Linked DNA regions of Homo sapiens: all the other regions are linked to region 2. The links are contacts of gene promoters, found by promoter capture Hi-C in blood cells and fetal thymus (Javierre and others, 2016). All regions are on one chromosome and are shown on one strand. Each heading gives the region's core, a stretch centred on a gene start or on the middle of the fragment in contact. The rest is flanking DNA. Distances are from core to core; before and after follow the strand shown.

Region 1 (2,700 bases), core at 104-2,603, 1.2 Mb before region 2:
AGACGTGGGTGGTGAGAAAAGGAGACTTACACTTTTCACTGTGTACTTTTATACTCGAATTGTATACAATGTGGAGTATTACCTATTCAAAATAGTCTTCAAGAGGATGTTCATCAAGAACTTTTCCTTGGCCGGGTTCAGTGGCTCATGCCTGTAATCCCAGCACTTTGGGAGGCCGAGGCGGCCAGATCACTAGGTCAGAAGTTCCAGACCAGCCTGGCCAATATGGTGAAACCCTGTCTCTACTAAAAACACACAAAAAAATTAGCCGGGCATGGTGGTGCATGCCTGTAATCCCAGCTACTCAGGAGGCTGAGGCAGGAGAATTGCTTGAATCCAGGATGCGGAGGTTTCGGTGAGCAGAGATCGCGCCACTGCACTACAGCCTGGGCAACAGAGGGAGACTCTGTGTCACAAAAAAAAAAAGAACTTTTCCTCTACTTCCTAGGGGAGAAAGTAGGGAAAATTTTTCCTCATAGCTTCACTGCCTCTCTGCCCCAGCCACACACCCATCAATCTACTGTAGCCCATCAGCCACTGTGTCAATCAGTAGCTGACACAGTCACTGCCCTGTCTTTACTCCTTCAGGCCTTATCTTTCAGTGGGCACTGGTGGACTGGATTTCCAGCAGCCCACCAACTCTTTGTCTGTGGCCTTTCTCTAGCCACCAGAGTCATGAGCAGCTCTCCACCCATGAGCACCCCAGAGCAGACCAACCATGGCTGATGGGAATTGGGTACACTGGTGAACACGGGTGCCCGTTGGGGGAGATGACTCTGGGGTGTATTCCACACTGGCTCCCAGAGGGCCTCAGCAGGATTAAGCTCCAGTTGTCCACAGTGCACACCCTTTGTTGGCTTCTTTCTATCCTCTGCCTCACCCCTCCCCTCCTCTGCCAGGATCACCTCCCAGTAAACTTCTTATTTGGACCCAGAGACACTCATAAAGAAAAGATGATGTAACAAGCTGTAGGGAGAGACGCTGGGACAGAGTCTCCCTCATAGCCATTGGAAGGAACCAAACCTGCTGACACCTTGATCTCAGACTTCCAGCCTCCAGAACTGTGAAATAATCAATTTCTGTTGTTTAAGTCACTCAGTCTGTGGTACTTTGTTAGGCAGCCCTAGCAAGCTAATACAGGATAGGTATCCTGTATCCAAAATGCCTGAGACCAGAATTACTTCAGAATTCAATATTTTTTTTCAGATTTGGGGATATTCGCATTATACTTACCCATGCAGAGCATCCCTAATCCAAAAATCAGACATCCAAAATGCTCCAATGAGCATTTCCTTTGAGCATCATGTCAGCACTCAAAAAGTTCCAGATTTTGGAACTTTTTGGATTTGGGACTTTCGAATTATGGATATGCAACCTATATAGTGGGTATCTGCTAATTAGATGGAAGGTCAGGGAAGGCCTCTCTGAGGAGGTAGTATGTAAGCTGAGGCCTGACTAAAGGAAAGAGCCAGCCATGCATAAGTCTAGGGCAGACCATTTTAAACAGAAGGCACAGCAAAGGCAAAGGCCCTAAGCCGTGAATGGACTTGGAAAGTTCGGAGAACAAAAGGAAGGCCAGTGTGGCTAGAGTTAGTGAGTAAAGGGGAGAATAGTACAGGAGGAGGTTGGAGAGCTCAGCTAATGACTCAGCCATCCTTCTGGCCTCCTTATTCTCACCTCCTCCTGCTTCCACTCTGCATTTTTCTCCAAGTCCCACAATCGTTAGATATAGTTATGACAACTGTCACTGTGGAGAATAAAAAAAGGAGAGCATTAGGAATTAGGATTTTAAATGGCATTAATGATGTAGCTAAACTAGAAGACACTACTCTTAGGTTATGTGAAATATTGTGAGGTTATCTGAAATACTTGGTGGATGGCATATTTGCTTGATGAAACACTAATTTCCTGGTGGAGAACAGACCAAAAATCCCTGGGCCAGAAATCAAATACTTGTTTGCCATTTGTTCTTAGATAATAAGTCATTTACTATCTCTGTGTTTCAGTTTTCTAATCTATCAAATGATTATGAAACTAACACCGTCCCTACCCAACTTGCTATATACAAAAGAAGATTATCCTCAAAAGTATCAGAAGGGAAATAAATGAAATCAAATAGAATATTGAAAGAATACCCTATCATTAACAAATAGTATTGATCCCAGAAGTCAAAAGATAGCTTAATATTTAGATATCTATTAACATTCACTATGTTAACAGATCAAAGGAAAGAAGTTGAACAATAATCAAGAAAGATGCCCAAAAGCCACTTGAAAAAATTCAACATTATTTATGATTTTTTAAAAAAAGTTATCAAGTTAAACAATTTTTCTTTTAATTTCCGGCTTGCTCAGTTAGTAACATATCCTATGTGTTTCTTATAAGCATAGTTGTAGGGTGAAGCATTTCAAAAGCCCTTGCTTTTAATGATTTGTAATTTTTTTAAAAGCTACAAAAAATGGATTTCAGTGATAACAAGCATGAAGGAATAGAATTTCATTATTTAACATTATTTTAAAGGCTTATACTTGTTGCGCTATTTTTGTGCATGTTACTGGTCATGGCCTTAATTTACTAATGCACAGTCTTAAATCAGAAATGCCATCTCCAATAACTGTGTGAAAGATGAAAGAGCACCTGCTCCGGAAGTGGGAATGAGGTTAGCAACAGAGAGCCAGGGGCACAAAATGAATTTTGATA
Region 2 (2,700 bases), core at 144-2,643:
TTTTCACTTCTTGCTACCCATTTATCAAGTCTTAGGAAATGCTAAAACACGGTTCTCAGCCTCCTCTGTTCAGTGATCCAAATCTGCCACTGCTAATGCATTCAGTACCCCAGATCTGAAACTGTTTTGTGAACAGAAATACTTAGCAGCAGCAGATATGGGCTATGCCAACATTAACCTTGTCCCTAAAACAAAGTGACAAACCACTCCTAGCCTCACCCTCAAGGGAGGGTAAGCAGTAACGACTCCTCCAGGAGTAAGGCCAGGAAGCCAGGTTTATCATTAACACTCATCAGCTCAAGCCCAAGGTTTAGCCGCTGCACCTCCACCACCAGGGAGCCGTGCGGGGCGGGCAGAGGGGTGAATGAGGCGGGCGGGCGGGCGGGGCGTAGGGTAGGCCCGGGAAAGGCGGGGCCGCACTGCCGGGTCCCCCACCGCCCGGCACCGCCCCCAGCCCCGCCCCCAGCCACCCGGGCTCCGCGGCAGCTCTGCAGTCCCCGCGCGATTGCAGCGCGCGCCCGGGACCCCTTCCCGCAGCCGCCTCCCCCTTGCTGCGCGACCCCCAGCACTTACCTGCTTTGCAAACCGGGGCGCTGGGGCTCCTCTTCTCCGGCGAGCTTCGGCTCTGCTCCGGAGACCTCCTCCGATGCCGGACGCGGGCTGGGGGTGGGGCCGCGCTCACCTCGCCGGTCCACAGGTGGGTGGGCGACGAGCTGGGCGACGACACGGTGCCCAGCAGCGGCGGCGGCGGCGGCGGCCGTGGGGGGCTCCCGCGAGCTCCAGGCGCGGCGCTGCGCGTGGGGCTGGTGCCTCGCGTGGACGTCGCGGACGCGCCCGTCTGCGTGGCCACCGTGGGGCTGGTGCGCGCGGCCGCGTTCCCGCCGCCGCGCGTGGGGCTGGTGCTGCGCGAGGCGGTGCGCGGGCCACCGCCGCCGCCGCCGCCTGCGGGGCCTGAGGCGCCACCACAGCAGCCACCGTTGTTGTTGCCGCCGCCGCCGCCGCCGCTCCGCGTGGGGCTGCCATGTTGCTGCTGCTGCTGCTGCTTCAGCTGGAACGGAACCGTCGCCCTCATGGGCTGCAAGCGGCTCCCGGGTCCCCCGGCCGTGGCCACCGCACCACCCCCAAGGGAGCCGGCCGGCGTGGGGGACCCATTGCGCCTCACCCGCTGGGACATGGTCCCCCCCCTCCCCGGTGACTGGGCGAGACGGGGGGTTTTGTTGTTGTTGGGCTGCAGGGGGAGGATTCTCGAGGCCGGAGGGCAGGCCCCCCAAGACGGGGTGACGAAGCCGGACTCCGGGGTGCAGGGGGAGACCGGGCCGGGGCAGGCAGCAACGAGGTGGTGCAGCCGCCGCCGCCGCCGCCGCCGCTCCTCATCAACAATAGTGTCTCCTCTGCTGCCCCCGCCCCCCACGATCGCCCATTGGTGCAGCGTCAGCCGCGCTCGAGCCGCTCCACTGCTCCCATTGGCTACGAGCAGCTCGGGTCCCGGGCCCCCGAGGCCTTGAGAGCCTGGGTGTGCGCGGAGACCGTCTGCTCTTTAAAGAGAAAGAGACCCGCCCCCCGCGGGGAGGGAGCGGAGGAAATGGGCCCTGTGTGTATGTGTAGTGTGCGCGCGTGTGTGTGTACACGTGAGTGCCCGTGTACGCGCGCGCCTAGCCACGCGCGCCTTTCCTTTCCCGCCGGGGGGAGCCCTGGGGACTCAGACTCTGGAAGGTTGCCAAAGGAAATGTCCAGACCCGGAGCAGTTCCCAGGGATGGTCTGAAGCCTTTTCCGCATAACTCATTTCCTTACCCCAGTGTTCACTTGTGTTCACCTGTACGCGCATCTCGTTCGGGCTTTTATTCTTAATGTTTTTGTTCTGCCCTAATTCCATCTACCTATGGGCAGGGCTCAAAAGGAGAAGAAATTTAACTAATCTTACTGGCATTTTACGCCCCTCTCCTTTTATTTTTTAGAGCTCTACAAAGAGGCAAATCTCAGAAAGATTAAACTTGCCTGTTAGAATGCGATTTTAGATAGTATCTATAGAGTTCAGTTACCACATGTTATTCCTACCCTCCTGTATCTCAAGTAATCAAGACTATTTTAATCAGCTGCTTCGCTGTTCCCTGATACCTTGGAAGGATGGCTGCTACCTTACCAGTTTGTAAAGTGCTATAGTTTACAGAGGGCCTTATTTGATTCTACACGATCATTGTTTGAGACAGAACTGGGACAGCCATCCATATTTTTGTCTAGCGGAGGAAACAAGTCTTTGGTGTGGCAAAGACTCGGGAAGGCAGGCAGTGACACTATTTCTAAAATGACCTAAAGGGCTCCTCATCAAGAAAATAAAAAATGGTGGAGCCAAAACCTACACTCCCACCTGTCTGGCTATAAATTGCCTATCCATGACCTCTTTTCCCTCTACTATTTTTATTAGTTGTACATGCTAGACAGATTTCGTCGTGTAAAAATGTGGGAGTGGAGGGCATAGTATGATTCACTCTGGACCTGAAATCCTACTGGGTCCCTTTGCGCGGTGGTGGAAGGCCTTTTTTTTTTTTTTTTGAGAAGAAGTCTCTCTCTGTCACCTAGGCTGGAGTGCAGTGGCGGAGTGCACTGGCTCGAATCTCGGCTCAGTGCAACCTCCGCCTCCCGCGTTCAAGCAATTCTCCTGCCTCCGCCTCCCAAGTAGCTGGGATTACAGGCGCGTGCCG
Region 3 (2,700 bases), core at 48-2,547, 1.3 Mb before region 2:
TTTATATATGAATATAGCTAATATTACATTTATATTATGTTTTATATGCATGTAAATGGTTACTGTTTGTATATATATTTACATTATAACTATAGTTTATACATACATTAACTCATTTAATCTTCTTAATCATCCCAATGGTGACCACTAATCTCCCATTTTACAGATGAGGAAAACTGAGGCACAGACAGGTAACGAACCTGGCCCAAGTCATATAGTAAGTGTCAGTGCTATGATTTAGAGAGTCTGGCTCCAGAGTCCTCACTCTTAACCGAAGCAGGTAGAACCACCAATACCAAGGCCTGCTGATCCCTCCATCCAGAAGTCTGAACGCGCTTCCAAGATGCTAGATCCAGGCTGGACTTCCCTTAGCCTGCAGAAATGACATTTAGATGAGAAGCTGAAATCAGCTGGCCAGGGAAACCAAGGTGTGAGTCCAAAAGGTCCAGGCTCTGAAACAGATTCCAGGTTTGGGGCTTTAGGCCAGCCACTAGGAATGCCAGACCACAGCCAAGGGGTCTGCAAGGTAAGGAGGAGGCTGATCCTGCAGGGATCCCCCTAGCTGCTGAAGCTTCCCCTAGCTACCTTCTGTAGGGCTCCTGGGTCTCAGCAGTGGGTGTGAAGGAAGCTGTTTGAGGGACTGAGCTAGCCTGAGAAGTAGAGCCTGGGCTGCCAGGACCCCTGGGACCTTGCTACCCCAATCTCCTCCCTTTTCACTGTACTCCCCGTAGCATCATGAGGAAAGGCTTCCAGCCCCACCGGCACTGTGCTAGAGTCCTTTCCCAGCACACAGGCAGGCAGTGGAGAACAATTGACTTCTTCCAACCTAGGTGAGGCCTAGCTCTGGAACTGAGTATGGGGAACTTTAACTTCACTTGAGAAAAGCTGTCATAAGTTCTAGAGCTCAGGGCTGTTGCACAGAGAAAAATACAAAGCAGAAACCTAATAATAAATATGCAATGAGGACATAGTGTGTGCCAGACACGGGGCTCCACGTGCATTGTCTGATCCCGTTCTCAAACAACTCAGCGAGGGAGAGTCTGTTACTTATTCTCATTTCATAGATGAGAAAACTGAGAGTTAGAGAGATTCAGTCATTTGCCCGGAGTCACAGAGCTGATGAGCAACGGAGCCTGTTCAAATCCAGACAGTGAAACTCTGGATTCCAAACTCTTAACTACCCCACCACACTCACACACTTATCCTCATTTATTTGGCTAGAAATTACTGGAAGCATTACTTTTTTTGGTCTCCTATTTTCATGGTGGAAGGATACTTAGGTCCTAGAGGAAATTCCAAGATAATTTGAATGCAAAAAAAGATGTCCTGGTCAATTGGAGGTGTAATGTTTCTACCTCAAGGGGAGAAAAGTTGCACAAGTTATGGTTAAATTCAGCTTTAGTTCAACTGGATATGTGTGGTTTTGTTTGATATGTATCTCTTTGCTTTTTCCCAACCCTCTCGCTTCTCAGTTTGTCAGACACTGGGTGGTAAATTGATCCGATAGTGGAGAAGAGCTCACTTCTATGTAAACAATGTTTTATGTCAAAGTCCTGTTTCAATGATCCTTCCCATGCCTCGCCTTCTCAAAAATCTTGGTCAAGAATACAAGTACTTGTGGTTTAAAATATTCAGAACTGCTTTCACGTGCCTGGAAAATTAACTGGGCAAAAATTTCCATTCACCTCACAGGAAGTGCTTTTAGTTTGCTTTTAATTTTTTTTCATTCCATGACTTAAGATGGTTTTGATTTGTGTATGCAGACGCCTGGGGTGAGGGTGGGGCATGGAAAGTTGGTTACATTAAAAGTGTTTTTTATTTCTTGCCTCCTGGGCACCAGAGTTCATCATGCAGCATGCTTGCTTTTCTGAAGGGCCGTAGGTGAATGTCTTTCTTTTGCTTTGCTTGCAACTTACTGAAAGCAACATTTGTCTGAGTAGAGGAGCTCAGACACCAGCATGGTTGAGTCCAAGCAATAGGGTTAGAAAGTAACCCCCAAATATCTAGGCTTCACCTAAGCTTGGTTTGCCATTCTGAAAGGGACAAGCATCAAAAGTGAGAGGTCCTTCCTAATCACAATTGCTTCAACTCCTACCTTGCCTATACTGTTGAGTGGTACCACCAACCAGCCTTCTCCCTTTTCCTGCTGATTCACCGATAAACCCCAATTACTCTACTTCCTAACTGTCTCTCAAGTATTTTTTCCTCCTCGCTTGCCAAGGTCACTGACTTAGATCAGGCCTCTGTCATTTCTATTCCCACCCTTGTCCCATTTTGGTCTGTCTTCATGCTACAACCAGAGTAATCTTTGTAAAATGTAAATAGAATTCATCTGTGTCCCCGCCCCACCCAGGATCCTCCACTGGCTTCCTCTCTTAGGTAAGGCCCACACCCCTTCAAGATTCCTTATGAAGGGCAACTCCTTCCCCAGTTCGGCCTCATCTCTTGCCACATTTGTTCTTTCTTCCTTCTGTACCAAATGTTTCCATCACGTTGAATGACATGAAGTTCTCCAAATTCCCCAAACTAACTCTTCCTTCTACTGCCAGGAGCCATCATTTTGTCTGTGCTTCCCCTCCTCACCACTCTAGCCTACCTTCTTTGGCAGATATTCCACCATTCTTCAGGCCTTTGCTTCCATACCCATCGATTCATCAAAGACATCAAACCAATGTCATTCACTCCCAACCACCCCCATAA
Region 4 (2,700 bases), core at 179-2,678, 1.3 Mb before region 2:
AGGAAACTGGAACTGTAATGCCTCACTCCACCAAATCACATCATAATAGAATACTTAAAGAAGTCCTTGTGCTCAGAGTTCCTAGTGCTCATTATTATCTTCTTTTATTATTTTTTTTTTTTTTAGAGACAGAATCTTATTCTGTCACCCAGGCTGTAGTGCAGTGGCACAATTATAGCTCACTGTAGCCTCAAACTCCTGGGCTCAAGCAATCCACCTGCCTCAGCCTCCCAAGTAGCTGGGACTACAGGCACATGTCACCACAACCGGCTTATTATTTGCTTTAAAATTCACCAAGTTCATCAGCCAGACGAACAGGGCAAAGAAGAAACACTCACCAAGTTCAAATTCTAAATTCTAATGAATTACCTTAAGAGGGATTCTTGAAACATGAAGGGGGAAAGCAGAAGTGTTTCCCTTTCCTAATTTTATCCCACAGTTGGCAACGAGAAGAAGGGTTCAATTGTACCTAGAAACTCGTTCTGATGTAGCGCTTTATCTGCAATGGTCAACTCTAGCTGCACATTAGAATCAACTGGGGAGTTTTTAAAAAATAACGTTTATGTCCCAGCACTGGTGGTTCTAATTCAATTGGTCTATAACTGGTCTATGTTGGGACCCAAGCAGCAGTTTTTTGTGTTGTTGTTGTGGGGATGTGTGTGTGTGTGTGTGTGTGTGTGTGTGTGTGTGTGTTTTCAGACAGGGTCTCACTCTGTCACCCAGACAAGAGTGCAATGATGCAATTATAGCTCATTGCACCCTGGAACTCCCAGGCTCAAGCAATCCTCCTGCCTCAGACTCCCGAGTAGCTGGGACTACAGGTGCGCACCACTACACCCAGCTAATTTCTAACTTTTTTGTAGAGATGGGTCTCACTTTCTTGCCCAGGCTAGTCTTGAACTCCTGGGCTCAAGCAAGCCTCTGCTTCAGACTCTCAAAGTGCTGGAATTACAGGTGTGAGCCCCTGTACCCACCCCTAAGCAAGGGTATTTTTGAGAAGATTCCCCAGGTAGTTGTAATGAACAACTCAGGTGGGGAACCACTGCTAACTTCATAAATAGGGCCTCCCTGTATCCATTTGTAAAATTAGAATCCTGTGCTCATCTCTGAGGAAAGTGGCTCAGAGGTGTTTCCTGCTCTTGCATGTCACGTACATATTCTTCATAGTTAACTTAGAATGGTTCAGTGACTCATTTCACAAGTCAAAAAGCCCAAATTCCATTTTAGGTAGATCTGAACAATGACAATTGTCAGCCCCTTGCATTTGAAAAGTGCATTATATCTCACAGATCATTTTGCTGATGAAGTATCTCATTTGATCCTTACCACAGCCCTGCAATAAGCAAGTCAGATATTTTTCCCATTTTAAAGATGAGGAAATCAGTGCTTCAAGACAGGGAGTGATTTCCCAGGGTCAGACAGACGGAAGTGGTAGAATTGGGTCTAGAACCCAGGTCTCCTATCTCAGTCTGGTCTTCTTGCCATCACTCAATGCTGGCCACCACTGAGTTTTCCAACCAATTCCTATTGGCCCAGTCCTATGACCTGTCATGGTGTGCTTTCCACTCTGCTTCTCCACCGTAAGGTGCATGCGAATCGCCCAGGGATCTTGTTAAAATGCAGAAGCTGAGTCACTGGGTTTGAAGTGGGTCCCAAGATTCTGCAGTTCTAACCTGCTGTGAGTGACACTGATGCCGCTCGTCCACAAATCACACTTGGAGTAGCAAAAGGCGTAACAAAATCACAAAATGTATTCTTCAAATAATACTGAAGAAAAAAAGTAAACTGAGCTTCATCCATCTTCTGGATGCTCATGAGACAATACACATGTATGGAAGCAAACCCTCATCAGATCCTTGGCAGTTCTCCCTGGCTAGAATATGTGTTATTCTTTTGGCAGCCAGATGATCATTGTGCTCATGTCTGGAATAGGATCAACAGCTGGATTTGCAGCAGCCACTGGCTATAATTTTTCTCTCTCTCTCTCTCTGCTTTGCTTCTCTTTCTCTCAAGCCAGAAGGATAGGGTCTGTGGGGCCACTGGGCCATCTGGCCATGCAGCTGGCCTGAGCTTCTGAGTCTGAGAACACAATGGTGATTCACTTTGTGCAATCCAAGTCCTTAGATGACATCTAGGAAATAAACTGCCAGGGAATAGTTACATAGACAAAGGGTTTTTGTCTTTGAAACCTGTTAAAATTTGTCAGTGGGCCAGTCACGGTGGCTCATGCCTGTAATCCCAGCACTTTGGGAGGCCAAGGCAGGCAGATCACTTGAGGCCAGGAGTTCAAGACCAGCCTGGCCAATATGGCAAAACCCCATCTCTACTAAAAATACAAAAATTAGCCAGGTGTGGTGGTGCACTCCTGTAATTCCAGCTACTGAGGAGGCTGAGGCATGAGAATCAATTGAACCCAGAAGGTAGAGGTTACAATGAGCCTAGATCATGCCACTGTACTCCAGACTGGGCAACAGAGCAAGACCCTGTTGCAAAAACAAACAAAAAAAATATGTTAATGTATTAGCATCGATAAAGATGATCTTTTTCAGTTTGTTCTTATTCTTAAAATAACCAAATTGCTAAATATGTTTGCAGTATACAGAACATCCTAGAGAGCACAAGGGACAGGGACCCCCAAAATGGGTTTAGCTCCACTCTCACCATGGACTAGACAATTTGAGGCAAAGCATTTCATCTTTC
Region 5 (2,700 bases), core at 77-2,576, 1.1 Mb before region 2:
TGATAGGGAGGATGGTACCAGATGTCTGGAGTGAGGGTTAGGGAGGAGATTACCATTAAGTAGGGGAGTGAATGGAATGGGAAGAGGACCAGAACAAAATACATTTCATTTTCCCCACTATTTTATTAGAGTCTTATCCTGCAAAAAACCACACTCAACTGGAAGGGAACTTGGAGATGATCTATGCCAATTCCTTATTTTAAAGAAGAGGCTATTGGGGGGAAAAAAAGAGAAGAAGTAAATGACTTTTCAAACAAGGTCACACAAATAATGGAAGAGCTAAGATGTAATTTATTTATTTAGACATCTAGGAGTAATGTTTTAAATCATAAATGGACAGAAAAACAACTTTGTTCATTCAGCAAGACTGAATTTATTTCATGCTCATATCTAGAAAAAAATACATTTCCAAATTTTTTGCCTCTAATGCACATATACAAAACATTTTGCTTACAATTTTGAAGATTTCCTGAAGGTCATAGATGGATCCCAGATAAGGCTTACAGACAGTATGATCACATCAAATAATCTTATAAATTATTTCTGATGCACAAGTAATAATTATACCATTGAGATCTTCCATTCTAGCTTACCCAAGTATACAAAAGGGATTGAACATAGACATGAGTCAACACATGAAATCACATTTCAGTCTGAACTTCACTAGGAAAATCCTTAACTTCAGGGCTTTTGTGAATTACATTTGTTTGTCATAGTTTTTCCTTTTCTTTATCGTAGCACCATAGAGAAATAAAACGTACTGGGAAGCTAAAGAAGCAGTTAGAGAGCTGGAATACATGATTAATTAGCAAAATGTGATTTTCCTCCAGAATCTTTAAGAACTTTATCAGGTTCCATTTATGCACATCATAGTCTGACTTTCTTTTGCAGTTGAAAAATCAGGTTGTAAGATTCTAATTATCTTGTTTCCTTTTAAAAATTCGGACTGAACAGAATTTCACATGTTAGGTAGGAACCAAAAACAATGAAAGCTTCTACTTTCAGCCATTTTGCCCTGTGATATTTGTGAGCACACTGTGAAGGTGATGCTGATTTCCCTGGCATAGAAGAGCACCTCCCTCCTGACCACAGAGCTAGTTAAGTTACTGTAACTTTCCTCTGAGTATATTTCCTGTTCAGGCCCAGGATGCCCTTCAACACGTGACCATCTGACCACTGGCTCCTTTTCAGGCTCTGTAAGGGGTAGGCTCCCCCACAAGACAACCCGGTGGTTGCTCAGGAAACTGTGAGACAAACCGTGCTCCCTGAGAAGAAAGGGGGACTCAACAGTCTATGGCTCTGATAACCTTAGCTGGTGGCCTGGCTTCCTTCTGATAAGAGAAAGAGAAGTACAAAACATTCACCAGACTGTAGCACCTTTCACCATCCTCTCTGAGCTGCAATGAAGATAAAAACAAAGCTATTCATGACCTACCATGCTTTGAATGGACCCAGCCTCTCTCTCCCAGAAATTCATGTTAAAATGAAAAAATGGTAATAATAATGATAATAATGCAAGTTATGGTTTAAAAATAATTCTGTGGTCATTTCATCTAGTTTTCTGTTGACTGTTATCTTGAAAGTCTTCCCATTTTCACAAGAAATGAAGATTTAAGGAAAATCTCTTCACACAGAAAAAGGGGGCTTTGAATAAGCTTGATAAACATGCATATACAGTGGTCCTCTGGATCCATGGGGTGTTGGTTCCAGGACCCCTGCAGATACCAAAATCCATGGAAGCTCAAGTCATGCAATTGTTGGTCCTCTGTATCCATAGATTCTGCATCCCACAAATACTGTTTTTGATCCATGGTTCATTGAATCCAAAGATGCATAACCCGTGGATACAGTGGGCCAACTATATGTTGTCTCATTCCAGATCCCAAATGAAAACAGATGGCACACACAAAATTGGGCAAGAGTAGGAAGGTTATTTATGAAAGGACTGTTGGCAAAGGTGTGGCAAGAGCAGAACCACGAGGGGTAGTGCCAGAGCCTGTGACTTGCAGCAGCAGAATTATGACCACCCTTAGGTCGAAAGAGACCAGGGGACAGCGAAGTTACCAGAACCAGAAGGCAAGAGAGTTGTGTAGTGGAGGCCACCATGACAGAAGCAATGACTTCCATCAAGAGAAGCAGACCAAGCAACCAGCTTTGGCCAAGATTGTGTATATCACAACTATCAGTTATACCAAGCACATTAACTGTTCTTGACAGAAAGTATGGTTTTAAAACAAAATCTAAAGAGGTTTTAGTTTGAACAAGGACAAATGATTATAGGTAACAATATAAATAGAAATAGAATCCTGATTAATAAATTTACTAAAGGCCTGGCACAGTGGATTACACCTGTACTCCTAGCACTTTGGGAGGATGACACAGGTGGATCGCTTGAACCCAGGAGATGGAAACCAGCCTGGGCAACATGGCGAGACCCCATTTCTACAAAAAATACAAAAATTAGCTGGGTGTGGGGGTACCTGGCTGTGGTGGCATGTGCCTGTAGTCCCAGCTCCTTGGGAGGCTGAGGTGGGAGGATCACTTGAGCCCAGGAGGTCAAGGCTGCAGTGAGTGGTGATTGTACCACTGCACTCCAGCCTGAGCAACAAAGTGAGACCCCATCTCAAATAAATAAATAATTTAGTAAAGAAGTTGCTTTTGGTCAGCACTAATCTAAGCCCCACCTTTAACCTTTATTTG

What was found. The method cuts DNA at HindIII sites, captures the fragments that hold promoters and counts their contacts. A CHiCAGO score of 5 or more calls a contact.
Region 1: a contact is called between a fragment that was not itself captured here and the fragment with the promoter of FAM117B in region 2, in 1 of 17 cell types (fetal thymus). The highest score is 6.0, in fetal thymus.
Region 3: a contact is called between a fragment that was not itself captured here and the fragment with the promoter of FAM117B in region 2, in 1 of 17 cell types (fetal thymus). The highest score is 6.5, in fetal thymus.
Region 4: a fragment that was not itself captured here is called in contact with the fragment with the promoter of FAM117B in region 2 in 1 of 17 cell types (monocytes); the score reaches 6.6 in monocytes.
Region 5: a fragment that was not itself captured here is called in contact with the fragment with the promoter of FAM117B in region 2 in 1 of 17 cell types (fetal thymus); the score reaches 7.5 in fetal thymus.

The regions. Positions count from the first base shown.
Region 1 is chr2:203,808,373-203,811,072 of GRCh38, reverse strand. No RefSeq gene overlaps it. Among named protein-coding and RNA genes, the nearest start is that of CTLA4, 58 kb to the left of the region's middle. The HindIII fragment of the contact is 5,785 bases long and covers 1-2,700 here.
Region 2 is chr2:202,633,662-202,636,361 of GRCh38, reverse strand. FAM117B (family with sequence similarity 117 member B) reads right to left here and starts at 1,393. Exons shown (of 8, transcript NM_173511.4): 1 at 574-1,393. The coding sequence starts at 1,174. RefSeq lists silencers at 346-785, 886-935, 1,126-1,355. The HindIII fragment of the contact is 4,588 bases long and covers 1-2,700 here.
Region 3 is chr2:203,933,260-203,935,959 of GRCh38, reverse strand. All of the region lies in intron 3 of LOC101927840 (a long non-coding RNA gene), which reads left to right. Among named protein-coding and RNA genes, the nearest start is that of ICOS, 2.2 kb to the left of the region's middle. The HindIII fragment of the contact is 1,448 bases long and covers 574-2,021 here.
Region 4 is chr2:203,892,910-203,895,609 of GRCh38, reverse strand. No RefSeq gene overlaps it. Among named protein-coding and RNA genes, the nearest start is that of CTLA4, 26 kb to the right of the region's middle. The HindIII fragment of the contact is 5,290 bases long and covers 1-2,700 here.
Region 5 is chr2:203,716,774-203,719,473 of GRCh38, reverse strand. All of the region lies in intron 1 of CD28 (CD28 molecule), which reads right to left. Among named protein-coding and RNA genes, the nearest start is that of CD28, 11 kb to the right of the region's middle. The HindIII fragment of the contact is 663 bases long and covers 995-1,657 here.